Linked DNA regions of Homo sapiens: region 2 is linked to region 1. The links are contacts of gene promoters, found by promoter capture Hi-C in blood cells and fetal thymus (Javierre and others, 2016). All regions are on one chromosome and are shown on one strand. The core of a region is centred on a gene start or on the middle of the fragment in contact, and the rest is flanking DNA. Distances in the headings are between cores, read along the strand shown. Region 1 holds the start of PRAMEF12 (PRAME family member 12). Region 2 holds the start of AADACL3 (arylacetamide deacetylase like 3).

What was found. The method cuts DNA at HindIII sites, captures the fragments that hold promoters and counts their contacts. A CHiCAGO score of 5 or more calls a contact.
Region 2: a contact is called between the fragment with the promoter of AADACL3 here and the fragment with the promoter of PRAMEF12 in region 1, in 2 of 17 cell types (total B cells and M0 macrophages). The highest score is 5.9, in total B cells.

Annotation. Positions count from the first base shown.
Region 1 is chr1:12,771,073-12,776,298 of GRCh38, forward strand. It overlaps PRAMEF12 (PRAME family member 12), which reads left to right and starts at 2,666. Exons shown (of 3, transcript NM_001080830.5): 1 at 2,666-4,082; 2 at 4,471-5,046. The coding sequence starts at 3,796. The HindIII fragment of the contact is 4,010 bases long and covers 982-4,991 here.
Region 2 is chr1:12,712,839-12,718,168 of GRCh38, forward strand. AADACL3 (arylacetamide deacetylase like 3) reads left to right here and starts at 3,272. Exons shown (of 4, transcript NM_001103170.3): 1 at 3,272-3,506. The coding sequence starts at 3,339. RefSeq lists an enhancer at 2,747-3,946. The HindIII fragment of the contact is 3,124 bases long and covers 455-3,578 here.

The sequences.
Region 1 (5,226 bases), core at 1,416-3,915:
CAGAGTGTGGGCTGCCCTGACCCTTTCCAGGCGCCTCTGGCCCAGCCTTAGAGCTGAAAAGGCTGCACCTGGAGAGGAAAACAGAAGCTCAGAAATATTCTAGAGACCCTGAGCAAGGGCCTGGGGGAAACTTTGAGATCCCAGTGGGGATTCCATGAGTGGAGAAGGGGTCAGGTGGTTCCTTGAGATGAACTGCGAAGGCTGCTCTGACCTGGGCAGCAGACAAGCACCTTGAGAAGAACAGGCGACAGGATATGGTAGAAAAGCCCCCAAGTGCAGGATTCTCACCAGGGTCCTGGGGGTGGTGCAAGACTCCCTGAATTGGGTAGGAAGGAAAAGGCTGTCAATCAGTTCTTTGTAACATTTAGGTTATTGAACCCCTTGGGGGATCCTCTGAGCCCTCACCTGAGGGATCTGCCAATCATTTGCGGCCTGAACATGGGCAGATTCCTCTCCCTGGCCGAGTCTCAGGGTCACCAGGTTAAAAATGCGGGAAAGAGCAACATACCTTAGGTTCACTGGGAGGGAGAGGTGAGGTCTCTGTGAGGGAGAGCTGGGTGAAAAGTACTCAGCCCCTGCTGTGTCTCGTGGATGCTCAGTCAACAGAGATGCTCACGACCATCCTTGGTGCTGAGCTCACCCTCAGCCTCAGGTTCACAAAGCAAGGGGCTGGGAAGTAGAAGCCTCACTGAGTACATTTCAGTTTAACTTGATTGCACACATAAGGCATTGATAGTGAGGTCAGAAATGTGGAGAGAAAACATTTCCAGAAAGATTCCGAGATGGAGAACATCCTTCGAAGAACTCCAGCTTTGGTGGGCCAGTGGCATCTCAGAGCTGTTTGGGTGTCATAAAAAATGGGAGAGAAAGGCCTGGAGGATTCTCTGGGGTGGGGGAGGCTCTTGCTACTTTGTATCCCAAAACATCAGAAGAATCACGGTGTGATTCTGCCCAGGATGGGAGCCACCCCTAAGCTTACAAAGCTTGCAGCGTGATACGGAGCTCTGGGTTTTGTGGGGAAATGTACTAGGATGTGTGCACTGTGCTTAAAGAGAGAAAAACTGAGTTCTCTTATTTTCTTTGTTTCTCTTTTTTTTTTTTTTGGGACAAGGTCTCACTCTGTTGGGTTTCCCTCTGTTGAGACAAGGTCTCAAGGCTGGAGTGCAGCAGCACGATCATGGCTCACTGCAGTACTGACCTCCTGGGCTCAGGGAATCCTCCCATCTCTGCTTATGGGGTCACTGGGAATACAGGTGCACATGACCATGTCTAGGTAGATTTTTTTTTTTTTACAGAGACAGTGTTTCACCATGTTACCCAGGCAGGTCTCAAACTCCTGGACTCCAGTGACCACCGTGCCTGGCCTGAGTTTTCTTCATATGCCTAATGTTGTTGTTCTGATCAGAATCTCTATGTTCAATATTAGGGACAAGAGAGGACTTTAAGGATGAGAAAACATTAATGATCAAAATATACCTGGAAAGGGGCCGATGGGATTGATGAGGATGAAGGGCCCTGGGAAATGCCTGGACCTGAGGGTTGCTGGGAAATGTTCCACTGTGGGAAGATCCCTGAGTCTAAAGGAAAGATTTCCAGACCATAGCGCCATGACAGGGAGACACGGACCCTTGTGCATTTCTCCCCCATGTCCTGCAGAGCCCACAGCTTCCACCCTCTGTGGCTTCCAGCTTGGGGGAGTCTCCCTTCTTAGGCCTGGCCACTGTGCTTCTGTCTGGCCTCTGTCCCAGCTCACATTCTCAGATTCAATCTCCCGAAGCTGGTTTTCTGAGGGGTGCCCATCATTTTTGTGAGTAAACACGCTTTACCTTCTAGAGGTGACCAAGACTGTATCTCGTCCCATGCCCTCAAAGGCAATATTGTGTTTTGAGTCTACAGTGTCTCTTTTGTAATTATTTCCTTTTCAGTTTTTGAATTCAATCTAAATGGAGTCTTTCAATCCTTCCGTCTCCTCTCCCACAAAATACCCACCATGTTTTATGCTGTCTTGGTTCCTTCCCAGGGTCCCATTAGAACACCCGGTCCCATCCTGCCCAGCCCCCACCTCACTTTGTAATTTTGGTTTAATTTCCTCCGGAGAAGCCTGAACCTTCGTCTTGAGATCAATCACACCCTCAGTGGTTCCCCTCTGCCACCTGAATGGGCATATGATCTACCATGTTAGAAAGCGTAAATCCCAGCTGACCACTGGATACGCAGAGATATTTATTCTGCTTTCTTAGGGATGAAATTACTGTCTTCTTAGAGCTGTTTTAGCTCTGAGACATTTTGATAATGTTTATGTGGCCAAAGATCCCCCAGCAAAGATACCTTCAGGTTTTGTTTTTTCTGTCAAATGCCAGAAACAGATTCAACCCTTTCCTGCATCACTATGAAGCTCTCATGTCAGTCAAACTCCATCAGTGTTTGTGGAATAAAGGAATGAATGAGTTGTGGACTTTCACCCTATTATTTATATCTTTCACTTTCATAAACGTATATCTGATCCAATCAATTAATCAGAAGAAAGTCGCAAACTCAATCAGGATTAACTGGGTGGAACTTCAGAATCTAATCAGACATCATTTTCTGATTGGAAGTTGGTTGTTGAGATGGGGAGGGTGTGGTTAGAAAGGTCCATAAAAGCTCCCGAAGGTGCACAGGAGAGAATCCAAGGCGCTGACACCTGGAGCTACTGCTCGGTTCTCTGAGAGGTTGCAGCACCCTGCAAACTGAGTCCAGATCTGGTAAGTCACCACCTCCTTAGGGTCATGCCCATCTGATCTGCAGCCAGCCAGCCAGTCAGGGATGGTGACATGCAGCCCAAGGTGGCAGAGAGAATTTTCTTGTCTGTTTTCAGAAGAACAAATTTAGGCTTTGATTTTTCCTCTAAATGTAGTTTTGTCTTCATCCCCCAAAATTGGATTTGTGCTTGGTTTTTGTCATTTCAAAATTCTTATTGAAGCAGTTTTTTTTTTAACAAGAGATATTAAAAAGTTACAACTGGTTGAATTTTTATTTCGTGACATTTGAAATAATTGGTTTTTGTGCCCTTAAATTATAGTTCATAGACTTGGTGGCATCGTGATTTTACATGTTAGGCCTTAGTTTTTACTAATACCTTAAAGATATTCCATAGGCCATTCTCAAGAGTGGAGTCTTTGTTCTGAACATGGGACCCATTTTTTTCCCCTAGATTCCATCCCAAAGTGGGTCATTGTGAGTCTGTGTAAGAGATCAACATTGGAACCTTCATCTGAGAGTTAGTGTTTTTATCCCTAACTTTCACAGGCTCTAGAACACTGTCATGCTGTTTTTACAATTTCTTGTTACAATTTTTCAAAATAAAAAATAATGGCGCTGATTCCAAGGAGTCCCTTTAGTCTTCTGCAAGCATGTCAATTGTGGGAACTGAGAATGTAGGCTGTGTGGGGCCACAGGACATTCTCGTTCCCATTGTTTTAGGGTGGTAAGTGACAAGAAATATTTTCTCAAAAAGGTGGAGCTTAGCTTTCAGGATCCTCAGCAACGCTTCCCAGTGTTACTGAGATTTAGTGCAGCAATGGTTGAAAATGAATGGGCCAGTGGTTACCTTGCCCTCTCCTCATTGTTTGGAAGACATTCTTTATGGTACCAGCAAGGGCAGAATTACAGATTTGTGTCCAGAAAGTGCAGAGTGGAATTGGGGTGAACTAATTACCTTTCCACCTCTACCAGAGCAATGACATTGGCACTAGGAGATGATGAAGTGATGTGATTTGCCGTAAGAATGATGTTTTTTTCTCTAGATTCATCAGGATGAGCCTCCAGGCCCCACCTAGACTCCTGGAGCTGGCTGAGCAGAGTCTGCTGAGAGACCGGGCCTTGGCCATCCCCACCCTGGAGGAGCTGCCCAGGGAGCTCTTTCCCCCACTGTTCATGGAGGCCTTTACCAGGAGATGCTGCGAGACCCTGACAACTATGGTGCAGGCCTGGCCCTTCACCTGCCTTCCTCTAGGGTCCCTGATGAAGTCATGTAATCTAGAGATCTTTCGAGCTGTGCTGGAGGGGCTTGATGCACTGCTTGCCCAGAAGGTTCGCCCCAGGTGAGGTGACCCAGCTAACCAGGTGGGGAGGGCTCAGGCATCCAGGGTAGGGTTAGCTGGGTCAGAAGGAGTGGGAGGCCCAAGGGTGGCCCAGAGACTTCTGATGGGGCTGGGGAGGAAGCTCAGAGAGGCCTTGGCCATTGTCCAGCTCCTCTGGGAAAGGACTGCTCACCATGCAGGGTCCACTGAAGGATCAGGAACCTGCCTCCTGCCAGTGGCAATTGAAGACACTAGCAGTGGGGACCAGGCAGGTTTCAAGGAGAAAGAGGGATGGAGAAAAGACAGAGAGTGGGAGAAGCAGCAGGGAGGAGAGTCGCTGATGTCCGGGATGTGGATAAAAGCTCAAATCCTTCCTAAATTTGGAGCCTCTCTTCTCTTTTACCCACAGGCGGTGGAAACTTCAAGTGTTGGACTTGCGGAATGTGGATGAGAACTTCTGGGGCATATGGTCTGGAGCTTCTGCACTCTCCCCAGAGGCCCTGAGTAAGAGACGAACAGCAGGGAACTGTCCAAGGCCGGGTGGGCAGCAGCCCTTGATGGTGATCCTAGACCTTTGCTTCAAGAATGGGACGCTGGATGAATGCCTCACCCACTTCTTAGAGTGGGGCAAGCAGAGAAAAGGCTTACTGCACGTGTGTTGCAAGGAGCTGCAGATTTTTGGAATAGCCATCCACAGGATCATAGAGGTCCTGAACACGGTGGAGCTAGACTGTATCCAGGAGGTGGAAGTGTGCTGCCCGTGGGAGCTGTCCATTCTTATAAGGTTCGCCCCTTACCTGGGCCAGATGAGGAATCTCCGCAAACTTGTTCTCTTCAACATCCATGTCTCTGCCTGCATTCCCCTAGACAGGAAGGAGCAGTTTGTCATCCAGTTCACCTCTCAGTTCCTCAAGCTGGACTACTTCCAGAAGCTTTACATGCACTCTGTCTCTTTCCTCGAAGGCCACCTGGACCAGCTGCTCAGGTGAGGAAGTATGGTGAGCTTTCTCTGCAGACCGCAGCAAAGACTTTCTTTATTACTGTAAACACCAGGGGGTATCTACTGTGAGCCAGCTTGTGAGGAGGTAACAGCGAAGGGGACACTAGAATGTCCATGCATTGTCCTGTTGGCAGCTCTGTCCTGAAATAGGTGTCACACATCCAT
Region 2 (5,330 bases), core at 2,022-4,521, 58 kb before region 1:
AATTTCTTGTCTTTTGGGGTGAGGCTCAATTTCCCTTATTGGAAATTTCTTGCCTTTTCTACTACTGGAGGTTTTTGTGAAGTTCAATCCCCCCTAATGGAGATGTCTCATCTCTTTTTAACCTCTAAGCCACCCCAACAAAGGAGTACTTCACCGCCCCCCCGCGACATTCTTACCTTGGTCCCAACCAACAAGGAAATACTTTACCAGCTCCTGCAGTGTCTTTTCCTCGGTCCATGTGCAGACTTTAGTGGCCATTATGGAGGATCCTTTACCCCAGGTTGCTGGCCAGTTTCTTTCCACATTGCTGAGAGCTCGGGTTATTTCTCACATGGGGTGGGTCCTGATTTTTCACCCCTGAGGCCCTCACAAGGGGGCAGGGTGCGCCTCCTCCTGAGACAGAAGCAGAGACCGCTCCTGGAGGGAAATGTAATCCTGGACGTATAAATTGAGAAGCTTAACAGAAGATACAAGGTCCAAATAAAAGAAGGAGAAAAATAAGTATTAAAGGACTAAGAATTGGGAGGACCCAGGACATCCAATTAGAGAGTGCCCAAGAGGGTTGAGCATAATTACTTGCTTGGTTGGTGAGTTTTTGGGAAAAGACCATTAGTCCGTTTTACCTTTCCTGACCATATCCAGGCCATCACCAATCATTCTATATGACAAATGCTCCCTTTAACAACCCCACAATATTGCCCTTTACCACAAAATCTTCTGTCAGCTTAATCTCTCCCACTCTAAGTTCCCATGCTGCCCCTAATCCCCCTCGAAGCAGCCCTGAGAAACATCACCCATTATCTCTCCATAGTACCCCGAAAATTTTTCACTGCCCCAACACTTCAACACTATTTTGTTTTATTTTTCTTATTAATATAAGAAGACAGGAATGTCAGGCCTCTGAGCCCAAACCTGCATGTATACATCCAGATGGCCTGAAGCAAGTGAAGAATCACAAAAGAAGTGAAAATGGCTGCTTCCTGCCTTAACTGATGACATTCCACCATTGTGATTTGTTCCTGCCCCACCTTAACTGAGCCATTAACCTTGTGAAACCTTCTCCTGGCTCAGAACCTCCCCCACTGAGCACCTTGTGACCCCCGCCCCTGCCCGTAAGAGAAAAACCCCCTTTGACTGTAATTTTCCACTACTCACCCAAATCCTATAAAACAACTCCACCCCATCTCTCTTCGCTGACTCTCTTTTCGGACTCAGACTGCCTGCACCCAGGTGAAATAAACAGCCTTGTTGCTCACACAAAGTCTGTTTGGTGGTCTCTTTACACAGACACGCGTGACACCCAGCACTTTGGGAGGCCAAAGCGGGTGGATCACCTGAGGTCAGGAGTTCGTGACCAGCTTGGCCAACATGGTGAAAACCCATCTCTACTAAAATAACAAAATAAAAAATAACTAAAAATACAAAAAAAATTAGCTGGCATGGTGTCACACACCTGTAGTCCTAGCTATTCGGGAGGCTGAGGCAGGAGAATTGCTTGAACCCGGGAGGCGGAGGTCGCAATGAGCTGAGATTGTGCCATTGCACTCCAGGTTGGGTGACAGAGAGAGACTCAGTCTCTCTCTCTCACACACACACACAAATAAATCAATAAAAATAAAAATTAGATGGGCATGCATGGTGGTGCACACCTGTAGTCCCAGCTACTCCAGAGGCCGAGGTGGGAAGATTACTTGAGCCTGGGAGATGGAGGCTGCAGTGAGCCAAGATTGCACCACTGCACTCCAGCCTGGGTGACAGCATGAGACCCCATCTCAGAAAAAAAAAAAAAGAAAGAAAGAAAGAATGCTTCAGGCTGGCTTCCTGACATCTAATTAAGTCTTCCCACGTGCCAGACTCATACTAGTGCTTGACACAGGCTGGTGTTCTTGAGGCAGCCAACAGTCCTATGGAGTGGGGAGTACTATTATTATCCCCATTTGACAAACTTGGAAACTGAGGCTGATTGCACATAACGTGCTCATGATCAGCATGCTGGCATTTGGCAGAGCCAGGATTCAAATTCAAGTGTTGCAAATGCAGGGTTTCTCAACCACCATACTATCGGCTTGCTGGACTGCATAAGTCTTTGTGCATTGCAGGATGTTTGGCAATATCCCTGGCCTCTTGTCTATGACACTCTAGAACCAGCCCTCTGGCCCTTCCTGAGTGGGGACAACAAAAATGTTTCTGATATTCCCATATCTTCTGGGAGGTAAAATCTCTCCTGTCTGAGAACCACTGCTCTCTCACTCAAGCTGGGAGGCGGGAGACACAGCAGATATTACTATTGTTACTGCAGATGTGGGACTTGGTTGTTAGGGAAGATTTCCAATGGTGACATCAACCTCTGACCTGACCTGGAAAGGCAAGCAAGCACAGTTTCCCAGATTTGCAAGAAAGAGGAAAGCAAGCACAGTTTCCCAGATTTGCAAGAAAGAGGACAAAGCCTGTCTATTCATTCTCTCACTCCATAGGCATTTGCTGAGCACCTACAAAGTACCAAGCCCCAATCCAGCCTCTGGTGATAAAATGGCACAAAAAGAAAATTCCTGTCCTCCCAGACAATAAACAGACAAGTGAGGCAGGTGATGATAAAGGTCACAGGGAAAAACCAAGCAGTGGGGGGGTGAGGAAGGTGGGGGATGGGGAAGATGGGGGATGGGGAAGGTGGAGGATGAGGAAGGTGGGGGATGTGGAAGGTGGGGGGGTGGAAAGGGTGGGGGATGGGGAAGGTGGGGCTGGGGAAGGTGGGCGTAGGCATGCTGGCGGGAGTTAAATTTTAAATAAGATTGCCAGGGATGGCCTCACTGAGAAGGCAACATTTGAGCAGAGACCAGCAAGAGGGGAGGCATGGAGTCTAGCCGAGGTCTAGGGGAAGAATGGTGTACAGAGAATGGCTTGCCGTACAACAGCTCTGGGACATCCTCCACAGGCTGATGGATGGATGATAAGCTGGAGTTGAATCACAGAGTGGGGGGATGAGGTCCGAGGGCCGGTGGGAGGAATCGTGTTTATGATGTCCATTGTGACTTGGTGGCTTATCCAAGACTATTTCTAGTTAGCAGTGCCAGATTGTAAGCTGGGACTCTAGAACTTTCTTTTGTGGCTGGATCCGGCTGGATGGGCCACTTTCTTCTCTGCATGGGCCCTGTCCTAGAACCACATCCTCACCTGAGCCTGTGACTCACCTGGGCTGGGCCAGTGTTTGTGGGACCCAGGGAGGTGGGGGAGGACAGGTGTGACTTATAAGTGGAGGAGGTCTGCTGGCTCTGAACCATGTCCTAAATGGTTTACACTGCGCACAGCTTCCTCTCAGCCCGCTCTGAGCTGGAAGCAGCATGTGGGACCTGGCCCTGATCTTCCTCGCAGCAGCCTGCGTGTTCTCACTAGGGGTCACTCTGTGGGTCATTTGCAGCCATTTTTTCACTGTGCACATCCCTGCAGCGGTTGGCCACCCTGTGAAACTGAGAGTCCTCCATTGCATCTTCCAGCTGCTGTTGACTTGGGTGAGTTTTGTGCTTTATGTGTCCCCTCCAGCTGACCATTAAGGAAGGCGGCAGGAAAAATCACACACCGGAAGCTTCTAGCTGAATGAACACCGGTATCATGGGGCCTGCAGTGACAGCTGATCAGACCTTCTGAAATGTGCATAATCCCTATTAGGTGGTTCTCAGCCTCTTTGGGTGTTTCTGAAGCTGGCCCTGGCTAATATTCACAAAATTCAAAGAATGATCTGCTTTCTCAGTTAACAGAAAGAAAAAACCAGTCTGGTTCTATTCACCTGAGTGTCTCCCGCTGACTTTCTTTTTGTTGTTGTTGGTTTGTTTTATTTTTAAAATTGAGGTAAAATATGCATATAAAATTTACCATCTTTCGCATTTTTAAGTGTACCTTTCACGTGTCCATAAATGTGTCCATATTATTCACAGCACTCACCACTCTCAGAAGTTGTGAAGATATGAATGAATTTTCCTGAGTCTCTGGGCCCCCACTGCTATCTACCTGTTAGCTAGAGCCAGCAAGCCACAAAGTAAAAGGGTAGCGGATGAGTAGATTAGTGCCGGTGAGCAAAATTACAGAATGTGACTTTAAAAATATGTTGTTGCTTTTGAGAGCTAGAAAGCTGCCTAGGGAATATAGTTTGGTTCTGCTTCTGGTGTAATTTGTTAAAATACCTGTAAATGGAACTGTGTAGGTGTTGCCAATACGGATTTCTTGTACTTTTTCTTGTGCCTTGACAGAAACTGAATATACAAAATATTTTTTGTAAGTTTCTTACATAACGAAAAGCAATTGCCAGTGCCTCTTCTCAAGAGACACCCTAGGTGTGTCTTCTATGCTATTCAAAATAATTTCTATGCTATTCAAAAGAATGTAGCTATTACCTAAAAGAGAAGATCCCGGGAACTCTAGGCTTCTGATCTCCAGTCAGCTTTTATAAGATGCAGTGATTGGGTCCTAGGTTTTCCTACCCTTGATGCTCAGATTCTGTAGTCCAGGCTCCCAAATACAGTGACTCGATTTCCTCTTTTGCAAAGTAGGGAAAATTGCTCCTACTTCACAGGGTTTTGTGGAGACTCCATGAATAACCCTCTCCAGAAGGCTTATTATAATGCCTGACACAGAGGGAGCCCTCCTTAAATAGTAGCCATTGTTACTCTTTGTTGATTCTTTTATTTTTTATGCAAAGATGTGTTATGCAACTGCTGTGTGTCCTACGCCAGTCCTGGGCTCTAGGGCCAATGACAGGTGAGAGAGGTAAAGTTCCACAGGTCTGCCTTTAGGGAGCTTGTAGGGTCCAGGCAGTGGGCAGCGGGGAAGTGGTCTATAAAGAAGCTAACCCACAATAGAACAAGCTACAGATAAACAGCTTCCCAAAGCGGAGAATGCAAGGAGGACAGCAAAACCCGTCAGGGGAGCCGAGCAGGGCTTCTCTCCTGGGGCATCTTGAGCCCCCGGGGCCACAGAACACAAGGGGGTCATGGATTTGGATCACAGAACATAAGGGGGTCATGGATTTGGGTCACAGAACACAAGGGGGTCATGGATTTGGATGGGGTCAAAATTACCCCATGTTCACAACTAACTTCCAATTGAAATTCTTCTCATGAGGAATGAAGGCAACAAACCACAGTCCTGAAAGCCAGACCTCGACTTTTCACCAAGAGAAATCAGACATATTTGCATTGCCTATTAGATATTGCGAAAACTCATGTATTCTCCTCATTTCTTTGAAACTAGGGTAGTATCAGGCAGCAGTTAGATCTTATTACTCTATGTGCTAGTAAGGAAGAACCTATATTATTATGACATACATTTTAATATTTTGA